7 separate regions of the Homo sapiens genome follow, and regions 2, 3, 4, 5, 6 and 7 are each linked to region 1. The links are contacts of gene promoters, found by promoter capture Hi-C in blood cells and fetal thymus (Javierre and others, 2016). All regions are on one chromosome and are shown on one strand. Each heading gives the region's core, a stretch centred on a gene start or on the middle of the fragment in contact. The rest is flanking DNA. Distances are from core to core; before and after follow the strand shown.

Evidence for each region. Contacts are between HindIII fragments. The CHiCAGO score rates a contact against its expected background, and 5 or more counts as called.
Region 2: a fragment that was not itself captured here is called in contact with the fragment with the promoter of PTPN12 in region 1 in 1 of 17 cell types (naive B cells); the score reaches 5.6 in naive B cells.
Region 3: a fragment that was not itself captured here is called in contact with the fragment with the promoter of PTPN12 in region 1 in 2 of 17 cell types (total B cells and naive B cells); the score reaches 8.6 in total B cells.
Region 4: a contact is called between a fragment that was not itself captured here and the fragment with the promoter of PTPN12 in region 1, in 13 of 17 cell types (monocytes, neutrophils, M0 macrophages and 10 more). The highest score is 15.5, in monocytes.
Region 5: a fragment that was not itself captured here is called in contact with the fragment with the promoter of PTPN12 in region 1 in 3 of 17 cell types (neutrophils, monocytes and M0 macrophages); the score reaches 9.5 in neutrophils.
Region 6: a fragment that was not itself captured here is called in contact with the fragment with the promoter of PTPN12 in region 1 in 1 of 17 cell types (total CD4 T cells); the score reaches 5.5 in total CD4 T cells.
Region 7: a contact is called between a fragment that was not itself captured here and the fragment with the promoter of PTPN12 in region 1, in 1 of 17 cell types (total B cells). The highest score is 7.1, in total B cells.

What each region holds. Positions count from the first base shown.
Region 1 is chr7:77,535,599-77,539,220 of GRCh38, reverse strand. PTPN12 (protein tyrosine phosphatase non-receptor type 12) reads right to left here and starts at 1,926. Exons shown (of 18, transcript NM_002835.4): 1 at 1,576-1,926. The coding sequence starts at 1,674. LOC124901681 (a long non-coding RNA gene) reads left to right here and starts at 2,272. Exons shown (of 3, transcript XR_007060395.1): 1 at 2,272-2,850; 2 at 2,940-3,622. RefSeq lists silencers at 1,387-1,436, 1,577-1,786, 2,037-2,336 and enhancers at 2,407-2,626, 2,797-2,846. The HindIII fragment of the contact is 6,799 bases long and covers 66-3,622 here.
Region 2 is chr7:78,025,289-78,028,910 of GRCh38, reverse strand. The region is part of intron 21 of MAGI2 (membrane associated guanylate kinase, WW and PDZ domain containing 2); the gene reads left to right. Among named protein-coding and RNA genes, the nearest start is that of DDX3ILA1, 37 kb to the right of the region's middle. The HindIII fragment of the contact is 2,914 bases long and covers 574-3,487 here.
Region 3 is chr7:77,935,945-77,939,566 of GRCh38, reverse strand. It overlaps PHTF2 (putative homeodomain transcription factor 2), which reads right to left. Exons shown (of 19, transcript NM_001395272.1): 12 at 1,729-1,857. Among named protein-coding and RNA genes, the nearest start is that of DDX3ILA1, 53 kb to the left of the region's middle. The HindIII fragment of the contact is 3,332 bases long and covers 412-3,622 here.
Region 4 is chr7:77,190,849-77,194,470 of GRCh38, reverse strand. All of the region lies in intron 2 of CCDC146 (coiled-coil domain containing 146), which reads right to left. FGL2 (fibrinogen like 2) reads left to right here. Exons shown (of 2, transcript NM_006682.3): 2 at 1-1,102. Among named protein-coding and RNA genes, the nearest start is that of FGL2, 7.2 kb to the left of the region's middle. The HindIII fragment of the contact is 3,370 bases long and covers 385-3,622 here.
Region 5 is chr7:77,212,423-77,216,044 of GRCh38, reverse strand. All of the region lies in intron 2 of CCDC146 (coiled-coil domain containing 146), which reads right to left. Among named protein-coding and RNA genes, the nearest start is that of FGL2, 14 kb to the right of the region's middle. The HindIII fragment of the contact is 2,757 bases long and covers 994-3,622 here.
Region 6 is chr7:77,858,016-77,861,637 of GRCh38, reverse strand. The region is part of intron 2 of PHTF2 (putative homeodomain transcription factor 2); the gene reads right to left. Among named protein-coding and RNA genes, the nearest start is that of PHTF2, 61 kb to the right of the region's middle. The HindIII fragment of the contact is 5,217 bases long and covers 1-3,622 here.
Region 7 is chr7:77,839,029-77,842,650 of GRCh38, reverse strand. It overlaps PHTF2 (putative homeodomain transcription factor 2), which reads right to left. Exons shown (of 19, transcript NM_001395272.1): 2 at 2,351-2,430. The coding sequence starts at 2,395. Among named protein-coding and RNA genes, the nearest start is that of PHTF2, 42 kb to the right of the region's middle. The HindIII fragment of the contact is 239 bases long and covers 1,606-1,844 here.

The DNA of each region.
Region 1 (3,622 bases), core at 677-3,176:
TAGTATAATACTGTGTATGGTCAAGGGCCTATTTTATAAGCTGTTAAAAATTTAACGCTAAAGCTTTACTAGACCAGTCTCTTTAAAACGTGAAAAAGTATTCACTACTAAGTCATATCACCTCCACCATAAAAACTACTGTACTTTTTAAACAAAAAATAAAAACTAGCCAATGTTTGCTGCCCATTCATTTTACAGGCATTAACTGTGTATCCTTCTCATAATCAGATTTCAGAATTAAGTGATTATTCTTCGAGGTGTACCTTACCCAAGATAAAAATTTTCCCCAGCTTATTTCCCATTCCCAACCCCCGCCAAGACTAAGGAGCAACCACTTCCCAAAGTCCCACTTCCTTTTTCATTCCCCAGACCTACAGGGTTTCCAACGCCCCAGTCTTGCGCAATATCCGTAGGAGCAGCAGCCGCAACCACCGCCTCCTAAGCCGGGAAACAACCCTAGAGGGAACATTGTCCAGCAGAAAAATAAAAAGGGCGGGGGTTGGGGGGGTGGGTAACGTAGGAAGTCGACTTCTGGTCTCACGCCTTCGGATCTGACCCCCTCACAGTGTGCTAAAGCAATAGTGTATCTAGAGCAATTTCATGAACAAGACTTTTAACCTTCACCTCCTCTCAAGACTGCCTGCACAAGCAGAGGGCGGAAAGTAGGGGGTGGCGGAGGCGGGGGGGCGCTGGGAAGGTTATCTCCCAGTTCAGGGCTTCGGCCCGTAGCGTCGCCTCCGCCCCACCAGGACTATTGTTCCCAAGTTCCCCACCCCCACCCCGGATAGGAAGTGATAGTCACATCCCCTCCGCCTTCGGCAATATCCCCTGGGGAGTCCGAAGTCGGCTGGCTTCCTTCAGGATAATTCCCCCACCCACACTTATCCCCTGAACCTATAGTCACACGGACCCCAAGACCACCTCAAACCTGGGCCTCAGGAGAGGAGAAGCGGGACGCGGGTAAATGGAAATTAGGTAAACCCATGAGATTCCTTATGGGCAATCCTTTCCCAAGCGTTGGAGATCATGACTGCGACCCCAGAAACGGCCTAAGTCCTACCCTGCCCGCTTTGAGACCAGCTAGAGCAAAGGGATCCCAGGAGTTAGTGCCAACCTCAATACCCCCGTTCCTCTGTCAGCCACGATCTGCACTCCTCCCGGTCACAGCCAGATACCTTGCCTCGACCCTCCTGGGAGGAGCGAACTGCGCGGGGAGGTGTGGAAACGCGAGCCCCCCCCCCCGGCCTGCACCTCACTTGCCTACGGCTCCCGGCCCGGTAAACAATAGGTGGTCGCGAGCCACGGTGCAGGCTGCGGGCTCGGCCGCGCGGCCGCTCCCTTCGCGTCCCGGGAACCCGCGCGGGGGTCGCGAACATGGGAGAAGAAAGGAGGCCACGGGGGGAGGCGCTCTCGCCTCCCGCTGGCCTCCGAGACCACCCGGCTCACCCGGCTGGTGCGCGCCCCCTCCGCCCCTCTCCTCACAGAGGTACACAAAGCACTGGCGGCCCGGCCGGGAGAGGCGGCGATGGGCTCCGGCGCCGGCAAGAAAACGCGACAGCGAGGGGAGAGACTCACCATGAAGTCCCGGGCGAAGTTGTCCTCCCCATTGTGGTCAGGACTCTTCATGGCCTGGACCCTCTGGATGAATTTCCTCAGGATCTCCACTTGCTCCATCCTCCCGCGTCCCCCCGGCTGCGGTCGCTGGCCCCCCCGCCGCCCGCCCGCCCGGCACAGAGCCCGCTCCGTCTTCCCCAGCTCGTTCCCCCAGCACGTCCCTCCCTCCCGACCCCGCCAAGCCCCGCGGCTCCCTCCTCCTCCCCACCGCCCTAGGCGGCGGCTGCGGCGGCACCGGCTGGGCTCCCGACACCACAACTTCCAGGAGCAGCCGCCGCTCTCCCACAGTACCAGGCGAGCCGCTGCGCTAGCGCCAACCCCAACCCCCAGCTTGCTCCATCCTCCTTCCCCGCCCTCCTCCTCCGTCGGAGACGCCGCCGCCGCCGCCGCCGCCGCCGCCGCCTCAGGAACACAGCTAGCTCTCCGCTCGCCCTGCCCCCCCTTCCCGGTTCCTCCTCCCCCCCACCCCCCGCCAGCAGCCGCAGCCGCAGCCGCAGCCGCCTCTCCCCACGGGCGCGTCCCCGCCGCCACCCAGATGCGCGGCCTCGCGCTGCGGCTCCGCCCCAAGCGCTGCGCCCGCAGATGCATCCCCGCCCGCCTCCCGGCCACGCCCCCAAGCCCGCCCCGCCGGCCCCAGCCCCGCTTGGAGTGGCTGGAAGGCACTTCAGCGGGCGGCCTGGAGACCTGACTCCATTTCCGGGGCGTGGCCCCGCCCGGGGTGCTCAGAGGTCGGAGTATCGCTGGGAGGAGAGTTGGTTCATTTGGAGGAGGGAATGCGACTCTGAGCGGGCCAAGCCCTAGTGGGTCAGAGTAGGATTCTGATGGAATTTGCGGTCTCACCGCCTACTAGGGAGGAAAAGCAGTTTTCAGGAGTCCCGCACCGCCGCCAGCCGTGGGCTGGGACTACAAGTCACGGTCTGTGGAGTCCAGGAGTGGGGGCGGGCGGGAGGCAGGCTGGGAGCTGTAGTAGTGTCACCGCCACGTTCGCAGCAGGTAGATGCTCATCTTGCTAACGGATTGGTGAGAGTGGACAGCAATTAGGCTTTGGCACCTTGGAGCGTGGCTCCAGCTAAGGGAAGCGAAACGCTTCCTGGGTGAGAGGACTTTTATTCTTTGCTCATCCTCTTAAACCTGGCGAGTGAGCGCCTGAGGTTCGGAGTGCCTTCTTCACAGACGACGCGAATGTGGGGTCTTCGTGTTTGCCGAACTGAAGGGAATTTGCCTTCCTGCCTTTAGGTTCGCAGCAGTTCATAACTGAATAAGAGACTTTCCTCCATAGAATGGACTTTATAAATCTATTAATTTTTTTTTTTTTTTTTTTTTAGAGCTAAGGTCTTGCTCTATCTCCCATGCCAAAGTGCAGTGCTATGATCACGGCTCGCTGCAGCCTTGAACTCCTGGGCTCAAGGCATCCTCCTGCCTCACTACGTCACCAAGCCCAGCTAATACATTTTAAAAATTTATTATTTATTTATTTATTTATTTTTGGTAGAGAAGGGGGTCTCACCAGGTTGCCCAGGCTGATCTCGAATTCCTGTGCACTAGGGATCCTCAGCTTCCGAAAGTGTTGGGATTTTAGGCGTGAGCCACCGCGCCTAGCCTATAAATCTTTATTCATCTTTGTAAACTTCTATCAGAGAATATATTCTGGTCTAACTCATCATTTTACAAATAAAGCGACTTCCTGACATCCCCCAGCGTATTCTTAGCAGAGCCGTAACTAGAAGTTATTTTACTTTCACAACAGTGGCCTCTCACAATGTGACAGAACTGAAGGATTTGATCCATGAACTGACTTTCGTCATTTATACCCACAAACCTTTTTTTACAGAGCAGATTGGTCAGCGAATTTGGTTATAATAGGAAATATCAGTGGTAGAATACTTTCTCAGATGAAAGTTAGGAGCACTATGGAATTTAGTGAAAAACTCATTGAAGAAAATAGGTGTAGGCCGGGCGCGGTGGCTCACGCCTGTAATCCCAGCACTTTGGGAGGCCGAGATGGGAG
Region 2 (3,622 bases), core at 781-3,280, 490 kb before region 1:
GTTTCCTGATCTTTGAAATGGGGATAATAGCAACATAGTTCTTTTTTTTTTTTTTTTTTTTTGAGATGGAGTCTTGCTCTGTTGCCCAGGCTGGAGTGCAGTGGCACAATCTCAGCTCACTGCAACCTCCGCCTCCCAGGTTCAAGAGATTCTCCTGCCTCCCGAGTAGCTGGGATTACAGGCACGTGCCACCATGCCCAGCTAATTTTTGTATTTTTAGTAGAGATGGTGTTTTGCCATCTTGGCCAGGCTGGTCTCGAACTCCTGACCTCAAGTGATCTGCCCACCTTGGCCTCCCAAAGTGCTGGGATTACAGGTGTGAACCACCACACCTGGCCTAATAGCACCATAGTTCTTTGAACTGTTAGGAGGATTAAAAGATAATATACATATGTGATCCACGCAGCAGAGTTCCTAGTACATAGAAGGCTCTCAGTAGATAGCTGCTCCATTGTTAACAGCCCCACCTATCCATGAGATTTGCCCTTTTGGCCATAGAGGTAGCTAAAACTTGCCACAGATTCATTGCTGCACCTTTGATTATGCTTTTAAAATGAATATAAATGTGAAGCTTCAATAAGCAAATACCATCACCATTGTAAAAGTTATTAATGTTCATAACATCTAGTTTACATCTCTGGTAATATAAGTGAAACAAATACATGTTTGAAGGCCATTAACGATGGCTCCATACTTGGAAACAATGCTTCAGAAAGAGCAGATGCAAAGTAAAACCATTTGTTCTGCAATTTTCAAGGTACTTTTGTTTATATTTTGTTACAAAAAGCAATCACCTTAGTGATGGCTGAACAGATGCAAATGAACCTTTATAGTTTGAACACAATTCTTAAAAGGTTTTTCTTTTGAATGCCAAATGACTTCACATTACTGTCCTTTGATCTACCTTAATCATTTTAGTATTTTCCCATAATATTCTAAATTAAAAGAAAATAGATTTCAATAAAACCACACCAGTATTGTCTAACCCCAGACAACTGTAGGTTGCAACAGGAAAGAGTTTTATAACAAATGGCACTAAATTCATGGATATTTTTACAGAATAATTCTAGTCATTTGAGCAGTAAAAGTATTTATGTCTCAAAGTGACTCAGTGTCTCCAGTATCTAATATATTTTCAATTCAATCCAGCTTCAAGGAATGTCACTGTGAAGATATTTTTTTAAGTAGATAGTACTATCCCTGCCCTTAAGAAATCCAATTTTATTGTTCTCTGATTGCAGGTCATATTTCTTTTTCTTTTTCTTTCTTTTTTTTTTTTTTTTGAGATGGAGTCTCACTCTGTCGCCCAGGCTGGAGTGCAGAGGCATGATCTCGGCTCACTGTAACTTCTGCCTCCCAGGTTCAAGCGATTCTCATGCCTCAGCATCCCGAGTAGCTGGGATTACAGGCATGTGCCACCACACCCGGCTAATTTTTGTATTTTTAGTAGAGACGGGGTTTTACCATGTTAGCCAGGCTGGTCTTGAACTCCTGACCTCAGGTGATCCACCCGCCTTGGCTTCCCAAAGTGCTGGGATTACAGGTGTGAGCCACCGCGCCTGGCCTGCAGGTCATATTTCTATCATTTTCACAGATCAATGCTCTAATCATAGCGACTGTGTCCAAGGTTCAAACACAAATGGCGTTTGAGAGTCTCCATTAGGAATAACGATGGACCTGCTTCTGACAATCACTTTAGATGGAAGTTTCTGTTATACTGCCCCAGAAGAAGACATGAGCCCTCATTTCTCAATCAGACTAGCAGACAGTAAAGACATTCAGCGTCAGTGTTTCAGCTGAGTTTGTAGAACATTACCCAATTCCGAAAGCCATTCAATGCCCCTTAGCTACCAGCTGTGTGGCCTTGAACAAGTTCCTTAACCTCTGTGTCTCTGTTTCCTCATCTGTAAAATGTGTCAGTTTACATGTATTAACATGAGTTAATACATTTCAGGGCCTTCAAAGAGTGCCTGGCATCTAGTAAGTACCTCAGTCAGTGTTAGCTATTGCCATTATGAGTAGTATCAATAGCAATAATGCTTCTATTATCTTCCTGACCACTCTAATCCAAGACGCAGTCGTTAGGCCCTGGGTTCATGCCCTGTAATGAGAGTAGGAAAGCAATGTAGGAACTCTTATTCATGGCTTTCGGAAACACCCAGCCTGAAGCTGGATGCCCTGAGGCCACTGGTGAGGTATGGGACAGCTGACAAAGTCTCTTTCCCCACCCCACCTCCGGCCCCACCCGAACCCCACCATTGCCCACAGTCTCTGGCTCCCTTCTAAGGGTTTTCTTGTTTATGTTTTGTTATAAAGAGCAATCACCTTTGTGATGGTGGAACAGATGCAAATGAACCATTATAATTTGGGCACAATCCTTAAAAGATTTTTCTTTCTCAACCTCTGTGTCTTCAGCACAGGATAAAATTAACTCTCCTTTGATGTGGGTTATGCTTTCCTCTTCTGCACAAATGTTTGCTGGAGTTAAGAGCCATATGGGAAAACCAAGAATACAGATACTTATTTACTGCAACAAGCAGTTTATTCCTATTGGGTCAGCTCTCTGGTTTTACCATCACTTTGGTTATATATCATAAACAAGCTGTTGAAACACAATTTCTGTAGATGAGATTTTTTATTTCTGGCATATGAAGTGAAGGAGCACATTTTATTTTTTAATATTGCTGGGCTCCTACAAGATAATTTGAGAAACCATACATCTTTTAACTAAAACATAATGGGGTGTGTGTGATCTGTGTGTATATATACTGATATGTACTTATGGATTAATCAATCTGTTTTCTAGGAAAGATCCAAACTGGCTAGAACTGACAATAGGAAGGGTAAGAAACTTGATCCTAACTTAGGAGAGGGGCTTGCTTCTCCCACAGTGGAATATAAGATATTTAGAGTCTATCTTACCTGTGGGTTCATTGGAACATTTTCTGGCATGTTGGTTAATGACTTCCCAGGGACAGAGCTCCTTTAAGTAAAGCTATTACTGCATCATTAGAGCTCATAACACGGGAAAGAACATCCATAAAAATTCAGAATTTGACTTTGCGCCCTGGGAATCTGAGCTTCTCTTCATCCCTGTCCATCCTAAGGGGCCTCCGATGAAAGCGGGAACTCTTCCCAGTGTATTTCTGTGGCTGGCTTCCTCCTTGTTCCCTCTCCCCAAACTTAGTCATTTCCCCTCCCGCTTCACATACACATTACCATTTCACCACCATCATCCCTCTCAAAACTGATCAAAGTTCCAAATACAAACCTGTTTTTGACAGATTATACTTCAAATGAAAATCCTTTGCCCTGAAGTGTTTCCTCAAGTCAGCATTTGGTTTCAAGTCTTCCATTTCTATTTGTGGAATATATGTATTCACTCATCAAATATTCATCAAGCACTTATTTTTGTGTCGAGGGCTATGCTAGTTATTAAATACACTGTGATAAACAAGGCCAATGTGGTCATTGCCCTTATGAAGCTTACAGCTAGCATTTGAGACTGATGTTTATCAAATAAGCAAGCAAAAGTATAATTACACATTATAATTACTACAACGAAATAAAATCGAGAAGCTGCTGAGGGGGTGTAGTATCTACTGTAGATTGGAGTTCTCTG
Region 3 (3,622 bases), core at 828-3,327, 400 kb before region 1:
CCAGGCTGGAGTACAGTGGCACAATAATGGGCTCAAGTGATCCCTCCCAACTCAGCATTCCTAGTAGCTGGGACTACAGGTATACACCACCGCCCCCAGCTAATTTTTTGGGTTTTGTAGAGATGTAAAGACAGGGTTTCACTATGTTGCTCAGGCTGGTCTTTAACTCCTGGGCTCAAGCGATCATCCCTCCTCTAGCTCCCAAAGTGTTGAGATTACAGGCATAAGCCAACACACCCAGCCGCTTACATTTCTCTTTGAATAGTCCAATATATAAATAAGTGTCTCCTTAAACTCTAAAAGCATTTTAGAAGAGAGATGATAGAAGGAAGAAGAAATTAAACAGAAAGGGAAAAAGGTGAGGGAATTATTTTAAAAAAGGAAATTAGATAATGGGACAATATAAAAGCTTCCAGTATGCTAGACTGGCAGAACTAAAAGAGATCTTAACTATCATGTAGCCAACTTTTTATAATATATATTAGATAAATGAGACCATTGTAAGTTAAGTGATCTGCCAATTCACAGGTAATTAAGTTACAGAGCACAAACTAGATCCAAGATTCCAGAGACTTCCCCGTCAACTGCTTTTAATTGCTCACACTGAGATATGTTATAGGGAGTATTATCAATTTCTAGACCCAGTTATTATAATTCCTGTCTTACACAAAGTGTGGAGAAGAGTTCAAGCACAATAATGCACCAAAGAAATTTAGAAATTGCAAGTTAAAAACAAGTCCAGAGAAATCAACACATTTTATTTTATTTTATTTTTATTTATTTATTTTTTGAGACGGAGTCTCGCTCTGTCGCCCAGGCTGGAGTGCAGTGGCGTGATCTTGGCTCACTGCAAGCTCCGCCTCCCAGGTTAATGCCATTCTCCTGCCTCAGCCTCCCGAGTAGCTGGGACTACAGGCGCCCGCCACCACGCCCGGCTAATTTTTTGTATTTTTAGTAGAGACAGGGTTTCACCACGCCTGGCTAATTTTTTTGTATTTTTAGTAGAGACGGGGTTTCACCATGTTAGCCAGGATGGTCTCGATCTCCTGACCTTGTGATCCGCCCGCCTCAGCCTCCCAAAGTGCTGGGATTACAGGCGTGAGCCACCGCGCCCGGCCAATCAACACATTTTAAAAATCAGTAATTATCTGAAAAAAGAAATAATAGAAAATAAAATTTTAATCCACAGTATTTCAATTAGACTTCTTTGAACTACTCAAGACTTTTACCACTATCTGCATTACTTCTATATATTTAAGTAGGTAAGCAAGTATGAATGCAAATTTACTAGTTTGATTTTTTCATGTCTTAAGTCCTATTAAACAAATGAACCAGTAAGAATGATACAGAAAAATAAGTCTTTTTAATTATTTTTTTATTTTTAAAGTTCTTGTAACAACAATCTCTAGTCCAAAGAAAAGTCTTTATTAACACCTGTATATATCTAACAAGCTCCTGAATTTCAAAAGAAAGAAAAAGATAAAAGAGAAAAATTATAGACCGTATCATCTATTCTTGGTCAGATAAGTGAAAACACTAGAAGATGAGAGTGGTTTGGTGACAAATCACTGTTTAAATTACAGACAGAAACAAATACACACATGTAACTTTTTTTTCAGGGTGAAGAAATGAGGTCAGAAGGTTACTAATATAATATTCCAGTAATTATCTTATATATAATTACTAAGTCTTACCCTTGAACTACAAGAATAAAATTTAAAAACTCACTCTGTTCATTATCATTCCACTGATTTCAAGTACAGACATGTCTGCTTTCTTACAATCATTACCTTCCCATACTATAGCACTTATTTTTTCTAATCCTGGGTGGGAACTATGGAGCCAGGGCAAATGACTCTATAAAAAAAAAAAAAATTAGTAAATATATAGATCACATTTAATAAATAAAATGTGTGTATATAAAGTTGTATATATATCTCTATATACACACACAATTTTAATGACACTAAAAATAAAAATTGGTGAATATATTTATCATGTTTTATAAATGGAATATATAGATCTGTGCACAGCTAATATATTTATACACACAACTCTAAGACACTAAAATTCTATCTTAAAATTAGTTAGCATATACACTGAACAGATATCATAAGAAGTTACATGGTTATGAAACTGTACAAGTTGAGAACTTTCTGTAACAAGTATTAGTCAACCTATGTTCAAAAATATACTAAAACATGTCAGCAAAAGTACTTAGTTGTCAGTCTACACAGCTGCAATATACTAATGCTAAAAGACAAATGGATATCAACTTGTTCATAGTAATCATTGTCCAACTTATGATCATTAAAAAAGAATATGACAGCTGAGATTTGAATCTCTTTGAAAGACCATATAGTGCTAGTCTTATCCCAAAAAAGACTCTTCCTTACATATTTAACGTTTAATATCTGATTTAGTTACTTTTCTGATATTTTAATCCAGCATTTCTCCAAAGGACCCATTTAACTTTTTTTTTTTTTCCAGATAAAGCAAATATTACAAAACTGAAGCACTCAGCCTCCTGAGTAGCTCGGACTACAGGCACCTGCCACCATGCCTGGCTAATTTTTTTATTTTTAGTAGAGACGGGGTTTCACCATGTTGGCCAGGCTGGTCTCTAACTCCTGACCTCAGGTGATCCACCGGCCTCTACCTCCCAAAGTGCTGGGATTACAGGTGTGAACCACTGCGCCCAGCCCCAAAACAGAACAGTTGAGTTAATGATGGCAACAAAATTAATGAAACACTAAACCTTTATATAATCAGACTTCAAGAGGAGAAGTAACACTAAAAGATTAAACCCAGATAGAGATCAGTTTGCTTGTTTATATTGCAGTATTTCTAGTGTATTTTTAAGGACTCATATACTTCCCACATTTTGTTTTTTGAGACGGAGTCTTGCTCTGTTACTCAGGCTGGAGTGCAATGGTGCGATCTCAGCTCACTGCAACCTCCGCCTCCCAGGTTCAAGTGATTCTCCTGCCTCAGCCTCCCAAGTAGCTGGGACTATAGGCGCCCACCACCACGCCCAGCTAATCTTTAAATTTTTGTAGAGACGGGGTTTCACCATGTTGACCAGGTTGGTCTCGAACTCCTGAACTTGTGATCTGCCCACCTAAGCCTCCCAAAGTGCTGGGATTACAGGCGTGAGCCACGGTGTCTGGCCACTTCCCACATTTTCTAAAAACAATAGTTTTGGCATTCGTAGCAACCTCAAATTTTATAAAATATTTCATTAAATATAACTTCTAACAATGAACAGAAGAATCTACTCTAGGTACATTTATTCTTTAGAGGACAAAAATGTGATTAAAATATGGTAAAAAAAATGTTTCTTGTAAACTTTTAACACTTTCCTCTAGGGGGAGTAAAGTTGCATTGATTAATTTCAACTAAAGTTGAATAATAATAATTCAATAATGTAAAAAAAAAGAGGTGGGAAATTTTTATCTTTTCTAGAGATGAAGGATTTTAATATACTTTAACTTTCATGGTATACATTTCACTACTTGAGGTCCTGAAGAGTGCTAAGATACTAGTTATTAACTACCAACTTAATTTCTCAAATGTTATTTCCTCATTTATCTCCAAACAAAATATTCTGTTTTGGGAAAGA
Region 4 (3,622 bases), core at 820-3,319, 340 kb after region 1:
AGAAATGCAAATAGCATTAAATGATGACCAAAATGTAAAATATTGTAGATTTCAAAAGCTGTGTCTCTATTAGGTGGGATACCAAATGTAAATGATGTAACTGACGTTGTTTTTTACTTTTTACTTTTTAAAAAAGACTAAAAACGTTTTGATATTATACAATGTATTTGTTTCAGATAAGGTCATTGTCATTTAGTATATATAATTAATATATGTACAAGTTTAAGTAAATTCCTGTGAGTAAAAATGGACTTATCACAAAACATAGTTCTAAAGAAAGGTATATGCTCATATACACGGTGTCCATTAATTTAATGGGAACTAGGTATAACTTCAGGAGAATTTGGCAAATAATTCATTAATCCATGTAAATATTCAAAAGCTTGTTCTATCCACATTATTTCAAGGGATCACTTTATTTTTCATTATACTTTCACAGCACTTTTCTAGTAAATTCTGTAACACAGAAATTCCATTTTGGAATCATTTCATGTTACCAATAATTCTAGACTTTTATAACATTTAACATGTTGATGGAAATAGATTACATCTGCTAGAACCTTTTGCCTTAACTATTCACCAATATATGCTAATATTCATAAATATGGATTGACTGTTTACAAACATTAGAATCTTGTCTTGGTTCCATTTTGATGGCTAATATTTGTTATCTTAATTAAGACTATTTCTGAGGTCATGATTACTTGAAAATATTGACTAAAACTGGGTCCTTAGAAATTCCAGGTGGAGCTGATTTACCTATGACTGAGGGGAAAAAAAAATCAAATTTTACTGATAATAGTAATGCTCCAAATGAATTAATGACACATCTGTTCAATAAATAAAGAGCTTAAATATACAAAACATAAGAAATCTGGGCAACAAAACTTGTGGTCTTTACTTTTGAATAGCTACCCAAGAAAAGGTTTTAAAGGTAAAAGTTATGAGTAATGTCATCACAATAAGCTCTTGTTTAAAATTCTTTTCTTTTATGTATAATTAGGTTTATGTTTCATGTCTTTTTAAAACCTTATAAAAGATTTAATTATCACATCTATTCTTCAATGTGGAAATATTAAATATTGTTGGTTGTAAAATAATATTTATGTACTTACTTGTGTCTGAAAAGTTGTAAAATGCTTACCTCAGCTATACAATATCTGTGACTCTGAAGACTTTAATGAGTACTATTTCATTAACAAGAAGTCAGAGGCAAATAGAGGAACACCATTATCTTACTTCCCTCTAGAATACTGTTGAAACATTTGAAATACAAAAGTTTCAGTTTCATTTTGTGGCATTCAACTTCCTCTCCTCTTTTTCCGTTATTAGTGTTGCTGCTCTGGTTAGCCCTCTTCATCTCCTTAGGACAACACAAACGCATCTGAATAGTCTGTACCTCTGGTTTCAGTCTATTCCAGTCCAACTTTCATCCCTACCAGGGGGATTGTTCAAAAGTACAATTCTGATCATGTTATTGTCCTGCTTAAAAAACTTTCAACAACGCCTTCTTTTCTTTTTTTTTATTATTTTATTTTATTTTTTTTAGAGACGGAGTCTCACTCTGTCGCCCAGGCTGGAGTGCAATGGCGAGATCTCGGCTCACTGCAACCTCTGCCTCCTGGGTTCACGCCATTCTCCTCTCTCAGCCTCCTGAGTAGCTGGGACTACAGACGCCTGCCACCTCGCCCAGCTAATTTTTGTATTTTTAGTAGAGACGGGGTTTCACCATGTTAGCCAGGATGGTCTCGATCTCCTGACCTCGTGATCCACCCGCCTAGGCCTCGCAAAGTGCTGGGATTACAGGCATTAGCCACCGTGCCCGGCCAACAATGCCTTATTTTCTACAAGATAAAATCTGGCAAATAAGTCCCTTCATGAAATGATTTTTACCACTACTTATACTTCTGCCATACTAAACGCCTTGTTGTACACAAACAAACTACGCTTTCTAATGTTTTCATTGCCTTTAGTATACTGTTTCCTTGGTCTAGATAGAATGCCATCCTCTTTCCTCACTGGGTTTTGTCTTATCACCCATGATTAACAGCAGGAACTCAGGAGCTGGCCTTCCTGGTTTGAATTTCAGCTCCACTATTTGCAAGCTGTATGATCCTGGGCAAGTCACTTAATGTTCTTTGGTTCCTTCAATTATAAAATAGGAATAGTAATAGAATCTGCCTGATAGAGTTATTGAGAGGATTAAATCACATATATAAAGCACCTAGAACATATATATTTAAAAATCATCATTCCCAGCTGGGTGTTGGTGGCACATGCCTGTAATCCCAGCACTTTGGGAGGCCGAGGTGGGCGGATCACGTGAGACCAGCCTGGCCAACATGGTGAAACCCCATCTCTACTAAAAATACAAAAATTAGCCAGGTGTGGTGGCTCACACCTGTAGTCCCAGCTACTCAGGAAGCTGAGGCAGGAGAATTGCTTGAACCTGGCAGACAGAGGTTGCAGTGAGCAGAGATGGCGCCACTGCACTCCAGCCTGGGTGACAGAGAAAAAAAATCATCATCATCCTAAGTAGTTATTATTATTTTTTATTTTTTGAGATGGAGTCTTGCTCTGTCGCCCAGGCTGGAGTGCAGTAGCACCATCTCGGCTCACTGCACGCTCCGCCTCCTGGGTTCACACCATTCTCCTGCCTCAGCCTCCCAAGTAGCTAGGACTACAGGTGCCCGCCACCACACCCAGCTAATTTGTTTTGTATTTTTAGTAGAGACTGGGTTTCACCGTGTTAGCCAGGATGGTCTCGATCTCCTGACCTCGTGATCCGCCCACCTTGGCCTCCCAAAGTGCTGGGATTACAGGCGTGAGCCACTGCGCCAGGCCCTAAATAGTTATCTCTTATAGGCAGAGTTCTCTGATGACAGTAGGTGGGGTCCTGGCACCTCTCCTAGATCTTATGCCATCCTACATATTCCTTATTATATATTATTCAATATTGTCTAAGTTCTATCCTGAAATCAATCTGTGTGAATAGGAGTAAAGGAAATTTGAGACATGAGTATTGTTATTCAAAGTGATTAATAATATGTTGCCACAGAGAAAGAGTTGTACTCTAAAGAGGCCACAGTTATGATTGGGAAAGTAGTGGGTAGGGTCAAATCTGCGGATATGAGAGACTGTGAACATAGGTGAGAAGCAATTACAGCCAGGGAGAATATGGCAAGACAGGATCAAATACAGTAAGTCCTCACTTAACGCTGTTGATAGGTTCTCAGAAACAGCGACGTTAAAACAACATACCATGTAACAAAACCAATTTTACCATAAGCTAATTGACATAAACAAGAATGAAGTTCCTATGGCATACAATATGCTGTTTTTGCTTAAAGTTGCTGTTTCCAAGAACCTATCCATGATGTTAAGTGAGGACTTACTGTATACTATAGGACTGGGAATGTAACAGTGGCAAACTTTTAGAAGGGGTCCTAGGAACATGCCTGTGGGGACATGTCACACAGAGGCATATTGCTGTACCTGCCCAATAGTGATTGTTCCACCCTACTGAATTCCTGAAGAAAAAAGCAGGAATAATTTTGAAATTAATTTTAATATAAAATCCATGAATCCTTTAATTTTTTAAAAAGTTACAGATTAAAATAAA
Region 5 (3,622 bases), core at 1,123-3,622, 320 kb after region 1:
CCTTAAAATGAGTTGTTACAGGAAAAGGGAGGAAACAAGGTGGGGGGGTTAGGGATACAAGCTAGAATTCTTTAAATATACTTTAACAATGTAGTACTTTATTAAATTAAGAAGCAATTATTAGAATTTGAAAAAAATAAACCAATTGAATATAACTATGTATCAAAATATAATTTCATGGGAAGGAACCATTCCAATTTGAATAGGAATCCTAAGTAGATTTTGCCCTAAGGACAAAAAGACCTGCAACTATTTTTTTTATAATCACATTGTTGGTAGTAGTGTTATTCTGAAACAGTTATGTGTAAACTGTGGGATAAAGTCAATGAATAATTACATAATGTCATTGAAAATCAGGATTTTGATGTGGAGAAAAGAGACATCTATAAGACTGAAGAGGTTAAATAAATTCCCTGTGTAATTATTGACTTTGAATTGGCAATATTATGATGTATTTTATATATACATAATCTATCTTTCCTAGTTCTGTCCATTAAAAAGGCATAGAAACAAAGATTAACCTAGCAGCAATGAGTACCTCTTACTCCAAGATTCTAGTCTCTAAATACCATTTCCCACTTAAAGAAAAAGGGGAGGCTCCTTTGGAGAAATGACTGATTCCAAGTTTTGAGCATGGAAACAAATGAGCCTCCAATGCTTCTGTCATATCAGAAAAGCAAAAAATCTACCCAAGACTACTAGAATCATGTCAAAGGGATTTGGAGTCATGTCAAAAGGCTCCCACTACCCAAAAAATGGGCCAGGAGGACTGGCAATGAGCTAACAACTATAAAGGATGGGAATAACTATGTTTAAGTAAATGAGTTCACAGTAATACTTCAAAAAAAAAAAAACACCAAAAAAATAAAAACACCCCACAACACCTCTCACCTTTGAAGGATACTGGGGAATCAATTAATCATTTTGAAAACCTGAAAATCAAGTATTTATCATGCCTCTACAGCAGGGTAACCAAATAACTGAGTGGAAGCTTCTCTTTTTAGAAGGATTCTAATAAATAAGTGAAGAGAAAATAATAGTATTATAATATTGTCATTTAAAATTCCTAATGAATTAATAGACCCAGGCAAGTATTATTAATAGCAGGTAACATCACTAAAAGGGAGACAACCAATATCATGTGCCTCCTGATGAAAGTTCATGCAACCAAGAGGCATCCCATTTTGTGAATTCAAACTATACTACAAGGCTGTAGTAACCAAAATAGCACGGTACTGGTGCAAAAATAGACACACAGATCGATGGAACAGAACAGAGAACTCAGAAATAAAGCCATATACTACAACCAACTGATCTCCAACAAAGCTGACAAAAAGAAACAATTGGGAAAGGACGTCCTACTCAAAAAAATGGTACTGGAAAAAGTGGCTAGCTATATTCAGAAGAATGAAACGGTACCCCTGGCTCTCACCACATATAAAAATTAACTCAAGAGGGATTAAAGACTTGAATGTAAGACCTCAAACTATATAAATCCTAAAAGAAAACTTTTAAACATTAGACTAGAAAAAGAATTTATGACTAAGACCTCAAAAGCAAATGCAACAACAACAAAAATTGACAAATGAAATTTAATTAAAGAGATTCAGCACAGCAAAGAAACAATCAATGGAGCAAACAGACAATCTACAGAATGGGAGAAAATATTTGCTAACTATCAGGCTGACAAAGGACAAATATCCAGAATCTATAAGGAACTTAAATCAACAAGCAAAAAACAAATAACCTCATTAAAAGGTGGGCAAAGGACATGAACAGACACTTCCCAAAAGAAGACATATGAGTAAACAATCATATGAAAAAATGCTTGTCATCATCAGATAAATGCAAATGAAAACCACAATGGGATACCATCTCACACCAATCAGAATGGCTATTATTAAAAAGTCAAAATATAATATGTTGGCAAGGATGTGGAAAAAAAGGAATCCTTATACGCTGCTGGTTGGAATGTAAATTAGTTCAGCCCCTGTGGAAAACAGCATGGAAATTTTTCAAAGAACTAAAAATAGAACCACCATTTGACCCAGCACTCCCACTGCTGGGATTCTCAAAGGAAAAGAAATCATTCTATCAAAAAGACACCTGCACTCTTATATTTATTGCAGCACTATTCACCATAGCAGTCATGGAATCAACCTAAGTGTCCATCCATTAGGATTAGATAAAGAAAATGTGATACATATACACCATGGAATACTATGCAGTCATAAAAAAGAATGAAATCATGTCCTTTGCAGCAACATGAATACAGCTGGAGGCCATTATCCTAGGTGAATGAATGCAGAAACAAAATCAAAGTATTCATTTTCTAACTTATAAGTGGGAGCTAAACAATAGGTACACATGGACATAAAGATGGAAACAATAGACACTGGGGACTTCAGAATGGGAGGGAGGGCAGTGAGGGTTTAAAAACTGCCTACTGGGTACTATATTCACTATTTATGTGATGGGTTCAAGAGAAAGCCAAACCCAACATTATGCAGTATACCTGTGTAGCAAACCTGTACATATAACCTCTGAATTTAAAATAATAATTAAAAAGAAATGATAAATGTTTGAAATGACAGCTATGCTAATTAACCCGATCTGATTACTATACATTATAAGTATCAAAACATCACTATGGGTAGAGCAAGGTGGCTCATGTCTGTAATCCCAGTATTTTGGGAGGCTGAGGTGGGAGAATTGATTGAAATCAGGAATTTAAGACCAGCCTGGGAAATGTGGTGAGACCTTGATTCTACTAAAAGTTAAAAAAAAATTAGTCAAGCATAGTGGTGCACACCTGTGGACTCAGCTACTCGGGAGGCTGAGGTGGGAGGATGCTTGAGCCCAGGAAGTCAAGGCTGCAGTGAGCTGTAATTGCGCCACTGCACTCCAGCCTGGGTGACCAAGTGAGATCTTGCCTCAAACCACCACCACCACCACACAAAAAGCCATCACTATGTAAACCATAAATATGTACATGTGACAATAAAAAATTTAATAAAAACTTGAACAACAACAAAAAACAAAGTTGATGGCACCACCTAGAAAGTAGCCTTGGCAAAAAAAAAAAAAAAAAAAATTAATGTGACCTGGATAAAACATTTATGCACTAAGGCTCTATGATTATAATGGAAATACAGGCTTACTATTAAGCAAAATCCAGATTATGGAAAAATTTATGGGACAAATGGCCCAGCTTCTTAAAAAAAATTTTCTATTACATTACCACATTACCTTACCTCTTGCCATGTAGGCTAGAATCTGCTAATGACACTTACAGGCTTAGCCAATAACCATGAATAATTTACTCTTTTCTTTTTTGTTTATTTATTTATTATTTGTTTATTTATTTGAGACATATCACTGTGAATGGGATTTTTTTCTTCAATTTTTTTTTTTTTTTTTTTTTGAGACGGAGTCTTGCTCTGTCACCCAGGCTGGAGTGCAGTGGCGTGATCTCGGCTCACTGCATGCTCCGCCTCCTGGGTTCATGCCATTCTCTTGCCTCAGCCTCTGAAGTAGCTGGGACTACAGGTGCACGCCACCACACTCGGCTGTTTTTTTGTATTTTTAGTAGAGACAGGGTTTCACCATGTTAGCCGGGATG
Region 6 (3,622 bases), core at 386-2,885, 320 kb before region 1:
TTACCTACAATTCTGCAAACTGATTAAACAACAAATCAAGATAAGGCTAAACTGAGAACTCACAATAAAGGACAGATCTATCACAATGTATTATAACCAAAGTCATAATAGACAATAACCACCACAAATCAGGAAAATATTAGAAAATGGTCATTTCTACTCTATTTGCAGTGTTAAAGGAAAGAGTCAAAAGTAAAAGAAAATTTGATCATTTAAAAAAAAATACCCAGAAAATTCACCACGTAGGATAGTGCATTCCTCAAAATTACCATGTAGAATTAAGTGTAAGATATAACTGAAACTATATCTGCCTTTATAGCTATCTATTCTATCCACTTTTTAATGCATCATTTGTTTTGTTCCTTCCTAAAACACCCCTCTTTACCATGAAAACAAAGTACTTCAAAGGATCCCAGATAAAGAATGACACACCCTAAGGAAAAAATTGTGTTAGAAATTAAAGCAAACAATAAAAATAAATAAATAAAAATAAAAAAAGAAATTAAAGAATAAGGGAGAGAGCAATTAAATGTAAGTACATAATTTTCAAAAATACAAAGGAAAACTGACCACTTCTAATGGTGTTTTTCCATTTTAACTGATATAGAAATGTCCAATTTAAGAGAACAATTAAGGCCAGGTAAGGTGGCTCATGACTGTAATCCTAACAATTTGGGAGGCCGAGGTGGGAGGATAACGTGAGCCCAGGAGTTCGAGACCAGCCTGGGCAGCAGAGTGAGACCCCATCACTACAATACACAAAACAAAAAATTAACAGGGCATGATGGCACGTCCCTATATGGGAGGCTGGGGTGGGAGGATTGCTTGAGCCGAGGAGGTCAAGGCTGCAGTGAACCGTGATTGTGCCACTGCACTCCAGCCTGGGTAACAGAGTGAGAGCCTGCCTCAAAAAAAAAGAGCAATTAACAAAAACCTTTAATTTAACATTTGATTAATAACAACAGTCTATATTTAGCAAAAGTGAACAGAAGGGAGAGGAAGTGCTATAGCAGTATTTATTGAATACCTACTATACACCAAGCACTGTACTTGGTGTTTATATATGTTGTGTCATTTAATCATCACAGCAATTTTAAAAGGATTCTTATCTCAATATTACAGATAAAGAAACCAAGGCTTAGGAAAGTTAAGAAACTCACCCAAAGTTGCTAAATAAAAATAAAACCAGCTAACCTAGGACAGCCAAATATGTCCTCTAGTACATAATCACTTTAAATTGTTGTGTATAATTAGCCCCAAATACAAAATCCTGTAGCCTCAAAGACAGGAATGGCTTTTCGGTAGCCTGTAGCAGTTATAGAAAAAATAATATTCTCATACATTTGATTTCAATAAGAGTATAAATTTTTTAAACTGCACATGTCGACTCAACTGCTCCAATTTTATAACAAAAACAACAGATTAATATTTTATACACATCTAAATGTAAACTTTTATATTCAATGTTTTTTGGTCCCAATAGAGACAATCAGCATTTTAAGAGACAATCAATAATTTATCACAAAGTAGGTTTGACAATCCTCCAAGATTAGGACATTGAGAAATATACACTCTGGTTTAACTTACATGCAGTTTTTTAAAAGTGAAAGAATGTTATTATTATTTATAATAAGTAAGAAAGGAAACCTCATAACTGTTAGGTTAAACAACCCAAATATCTATTTAATAAGAACTGAAAGCAGAAAATTGTGCTTAATTTTGCATAAACGTATTCCTTAACACTTCATATAAGAGGAGCTAGGTACCAGGCATGGTGGCTCACACTTGTAATTCCAGCACTTTGGGAGGCCAAAGCAGGAGGATTGCTTCAGCCCAAGAGTTCAAGGCCAGCCTGAGCAACACAGTGAGACAGGGTCTCATTGTAAATTAAAATAAAAAAATTAGCCAGGTGTGTTAGTGCATGCCTATAGTCATAGCCTCAGCTACTCCAGAGGCTGAGGCGGGAAGATCGCTTAGGCCTGGGAGGTTGCGGCTGCAGTAAGCTGTGATTGTGCCACTGTACTCCAACACAGGTAACACAGAGAGACCCTGCTTCAAAAAAAAAAAAAAAAAGAAGAAAGAAAGAAAAGAAATTCTCACTTCCTGTTTTGCAAGGTATCTTTAAGGAATGAAAAATTTTTTTTAAAAAAAGAGGACCTAGGTGTTCGACAATCGTAACTTTTAAGAACATGAAGAAAATATTTGGGATCCTGACCTTCTCTTACTCAGTTCTTCACTGGTGGTCTACGATACAGCTACACAGATGGAAATAAAGCTACACATCTCCACACGAAATCCATTAAAACCAGTAAATATACTTCAGTTATCCTTCAGTAGTAGGTTGAATAGTGTCCCACAAATATTCACATGCACCGGAACCTCAGAATAGTTCCTTATTTGGAAATAAGGTCTTTGCAGATGTAATTAGTTAAGGATCTCAAGATAAGATCTTAACTTAGATGAGACTTAAATCCAATGACTACTGTCCTCATAAGAAAAGGAGAGAACACAGAAAGAGTGTGAAGAAGGCAATGTGAAGATTGAGGTGAAGATTGGAATGATGAATCTACAGGCCAGGGAACAACAAGGATTGTTCACTAGAAGTTAGGAGAAAGCAGAGAACAGTTTTTCCCTCACAGTCTCTCTCCAGAAGGAACCCATCCTTGCTGACACCTTGATTTTGGACTTCTGGACTCATGAATGGTGAAAAAAATAAACTTCTATTGTTTTAAGTCACCCAGTTTGTGGTCATTTGTTATGAAAGACATAGAAAACCAATATAACTTCTTATATCTTGTTATAACCACTGAGTTAATTTATTTCATTATCACAATAAATTAAACCATGAGACTATATACAGAAGCACTCTTGGGAAAAATGCTATTTAAATGTATGGTGGTACTCTAACATCATCATCATTCCTGTCATTGTTAAATCAACACATATGTATCTGTAATACTAACCCTATCTTTAAAAAAAAAAAAAAAAGTGTATACTTCTCCAAAGACAGAGACATCAGAGGTCACCTAAAAACAAACAAACAAACAAAAAAAACCTCTCAAATTAAACAAATGAGTTACATCAAAGTCTCTTCGGTCTGTTTCTCAAAGAAACTTTAGGACAGGAAGACCAGTGGCCTAAAAGTCAGCAGACCTTAGTTTTGGTTTTAATCACTAATTCATGATCAAGTTATTAACTTCTAAGGGTGTCCGATTTCTTGCCTATAAAGCAAAAAGTTTAACAGGAACTAGATAACCTCTAAAGTCAAACCCTCAACTATCACATAGTATAGTTTCTTTTTTCCTTGTAAACAAATAAAACTAAAACCCAAATTATTTAGGCTACAGATACCCAAACTGGAGACAGTGTGTAGGAGGAAAATTAAGAACTTCATAACCAAAATAGGGAAGAAAAATCCTAAGTGAAAAGGCAAATGTTACAGCAACTAAACTAACCTATCTATTTCTGCTAGGATAAGTCTTATTTTTGGCAAGTAAGTGACATTAAAGAGGAAGAGATGGAAAACATGATCAGTGACTGAAGCAAGCAAAATTGAGGTTTATAAGTGCTATTTAATCATGATTTTGCTGTATGCATGTTAGACAACAAACACCAACTAAAT
Region 7 (3,622 bases), core at 476-2,975, 300 kb before region 1:
GCTATAAAGACTTTAAAATGATTGCCTCTGGGGGAGCAAAACTCAAAGGTTAGGTAAGGATAGGGATGGATAGTATTGCAGGCTGCTTTTTTTTTGCAATAATCCTTGAAACACTAATCTTTCAAAGTATCACATGTATTTCTTCAATAAAATTAAATTTAAAAGCAAAAGGAAAAAAATAGAGCAAATCAAATCCAGTTAATGGTTCTGGCAACTCCCTAATTTATGTGATAAGCCTGGGCAACATGGCAAAACCCCGTCTCTACTAAAAATACAAGATCTAGCTGGGCATAGTGGCACATGCCTGTAGTCCCAGCTACTTGGGAGGCTGAGGTGAGAGGTTCACTTGAACCCAGGAGGTCAAGGCTGCGGTGAGCCGTGATTGTGCCACAGCACTCCAGACTGTGTTAACAGAGTGAGACCCTGTCTCAAAAATAAATAAATATATATATAATAGAATATGTGATTACATTTGCTAGTATATTTTATGACATTTCCTATAGTTGCTCTGGAGAATATTTTGGTTGCATGTATCCAAAGCTGTCAGGTAAATGACCCTTGGATAAGAGGGTCATTTCAATTACAGGGCTAACTTCAGTTACAGGGCTAACTGAATCTGAGTATAATATTTCAAACCCTCTGATCCCAAGAAAGGTCAATCAAGTATGTTCTATAAATGATCTTCAGTAAAGTCTAAAGTGTTTAATGTAAAAAGCCAAACAGAGAAAATGTTTATTACTCCCGTAGATAGAAATTAGGAAAGAGAAAAACTTTCAAAGATATAGACAGGAAAATTTTTAAAGTTTGTTTTGTTTTGTTTTCCTTAACTTACAATTTTCTTTAGCTCTTTAGCTAAGCAGACTGATTTTTAACTTGATTGGAAGTTTAAAAGTTTAAAAGGAGGCACTAACAAACACAAAAGACAATTAATAGTATATCAATATCAATACTTCCAATAAAGTACCTCATATGAAAAATATAATTGTATACCTATGGCATGTTCTACCCAGAAAACAAATAACACATCTAAAAACAGACCATAATCCCATGCCATCTACTAAGGGAGGTTTAGGTAGGAGGACCACATGAGCCCAAGAGGTTAAGGTTGCAGTGAGCCATGAGTGTGCAACTGCACTCAAGCCTGGGCAACAGAGTGAGATCCTGTCTCAAAAAATATTTTTAAAAAGGCCATATTCTTAGTTTGTCTAACTTTTAAAGTGTTTTAATTATCACTTATTTTCAATTGAACAAAACTTAAAAATCATCTGTTTGGCTGGGCGCGGTGGCTCAAGCCTGTAATCCTAGCACTTTGGGAGGCTGAGGCGGGCGGATCACCTGAGGTTAGGAGTTCAAGATCAGCCTGACCAACACGGCGAAACCCTGTCTCTACTAAATATACAAAAATTAGCCAGGCATGGTAGCATATGCCTGTAATCCCAGCTACTTGGGAGGCTGAGACAAGAGAATCGCTTGAACCCAGGAGGCAGAGGTTGCAGTGAGCCGAGATCGCGCCACTACACTCCAGTCTGGGTGACAGAGAGAGAGATTCCATCTCAAAAAAAAAAAAAAAAAAAAGTCTGTTTTTTCTCCTATATAAGAAAAGCTTTAAATGTATCATTATATTTTGTTAATAGAGACCTGAAGAATAAGGTATAAAAATGTTTTAAAATGTGAACACAAATATAATCCACTATGTACACAAAAGATCTAAGGTATTACACAAAACAACATAAATTTTAAAGAATATAAACAACACTCATTAGGAGCAAACAGTTTATTGTATTGTCAAAAAATGCCTATATTCTTTTGGACTTTATAAAGAAAAACATTACATTGGTAAAGCTTATTCTGAAATATATAAGATGATACAGCTATTTAAAGTAGGTACGACAATCCTAAAACATCAAAATAAACACTTTAATATTTCAGTTTGTAAAATAGAGTTCCCAAAACTTTATTTTACTGAAACATTCAGCTATTGAATTGTAACTTACAAGAAACAAATTAAAAACTATTGATATAAGTTATGTAACAGCTCTGCTAATCTTTCTTTTAAAAAATTAAACTAAGGAAAGTGTTAATGTTTTTATAAAATGCTAATTTTATCCACTCCTGGAGATTTGCTTTCTATTATAATTAATCTAGCTACTTTGCTATTGTAGAGTAAAAAGTAGAGAAAAAATATGTTTAAGCATCATCTTTCCAATTTATTTAGAAGTAAAATAAGTACAAGAAAAATAAAAATAATCTTCCTTTCCCACTCAAAATCCTAACATCTATAGCATGAAATAAACATGTATTTTTGAAATTCAAACATTTAGAAAGCTAAAAGTTTTGACTATCAACTTACCTTCTTTTGATACCAGACTATAGCATCTGTGACTTTGGACGCCATTTATTCCACTGAAATCACACATTGGTCATTTTAGGCTGTGCAAGAGAGAAAAACATACAAATGACTTTATTTCCCACCTTCCAAAAGGAGACTGAACAGCATGCAGACATAGCACTCTGGTTACTTGCAGAGCAAGGGGTGTATGACGAGACTTATATTACACTCTTCCTCATTACTATTTTAGCAACAGGTTCTCTTAAGTAAACAAAAATCAGTTGCCACAATAATAGAAAGTTCTATTTGCATGAATAAATAACACTTGTTTTCTTACAAAATAGATTGAATTTTTTTTAATCTTTTAAAGAAATTTCAGAATTTCCTAGGTTATACCAGAAATTGTTCATCTAAAAATCCACATACAAGAAACCAATTCATTCAATCAGTAATGTAGTTTGTTTCTAAAAACCAGTGTCAGTTACCATTGCTAAAGGATGGCTTAACAGAGATGACAGAATTTATAATGATATTTAATTTTCCCTGACACTCAGTAAACACAAAACTGAATTAAAATAACCCAAGAGCCAAAAAGTATTTATGTTAAATACTAAGCCAATATTAGAGTTAATACACAGGAATAATTAACACTAAAGACTTCCCAGATATCACAGTTTGCTAACTGTCATTTAAGTAGTTATGACAATTAATCCTCAAAGATCAAAAAAACTCTTTAATATTTCAGTTTATAAAATACAGTCCCTAAAAGTTTATTTTATTGAAAAAAATTAAGCTACTGAATTGTAACTTACAAGAAACAGATTAAAACTGCTGATATGTTCTATAACTCTGCAAATCTCTTTTAAAAATAATCAAACTAAGACAAATACCAAAAACCATTTCATAAGCATCTTTTCTGTGTTTGTCTAAAACAGGATAGGTACTAAACTTAATGATTCCTTAACCCTAGAGGTTATTTGAGACTGATTCCCATCAACTCCAGAATACTATTTTAGTCACAAGATGACACTGGCATAGAGGTTACCTCTGGTCTAGTGTTAAGGATGAGCCTAAAACAGGTTCAAAAGCAGTTATTGGCTGCAGAACTCATTACAAACCAAAATCATCCAAGGACACACAGGATGATCTCAGGGAAATCCTGGGGGTAAAGCACCCTGCTGAGCCAATCCTAGCACATACAGATCTGCAACTGTAGAAACGCTACCACTAGTTTGCCTCAGTAAACAAAGTACCGGAGGTTTTATATACCACTCTTGGGAGCATGCATGATGA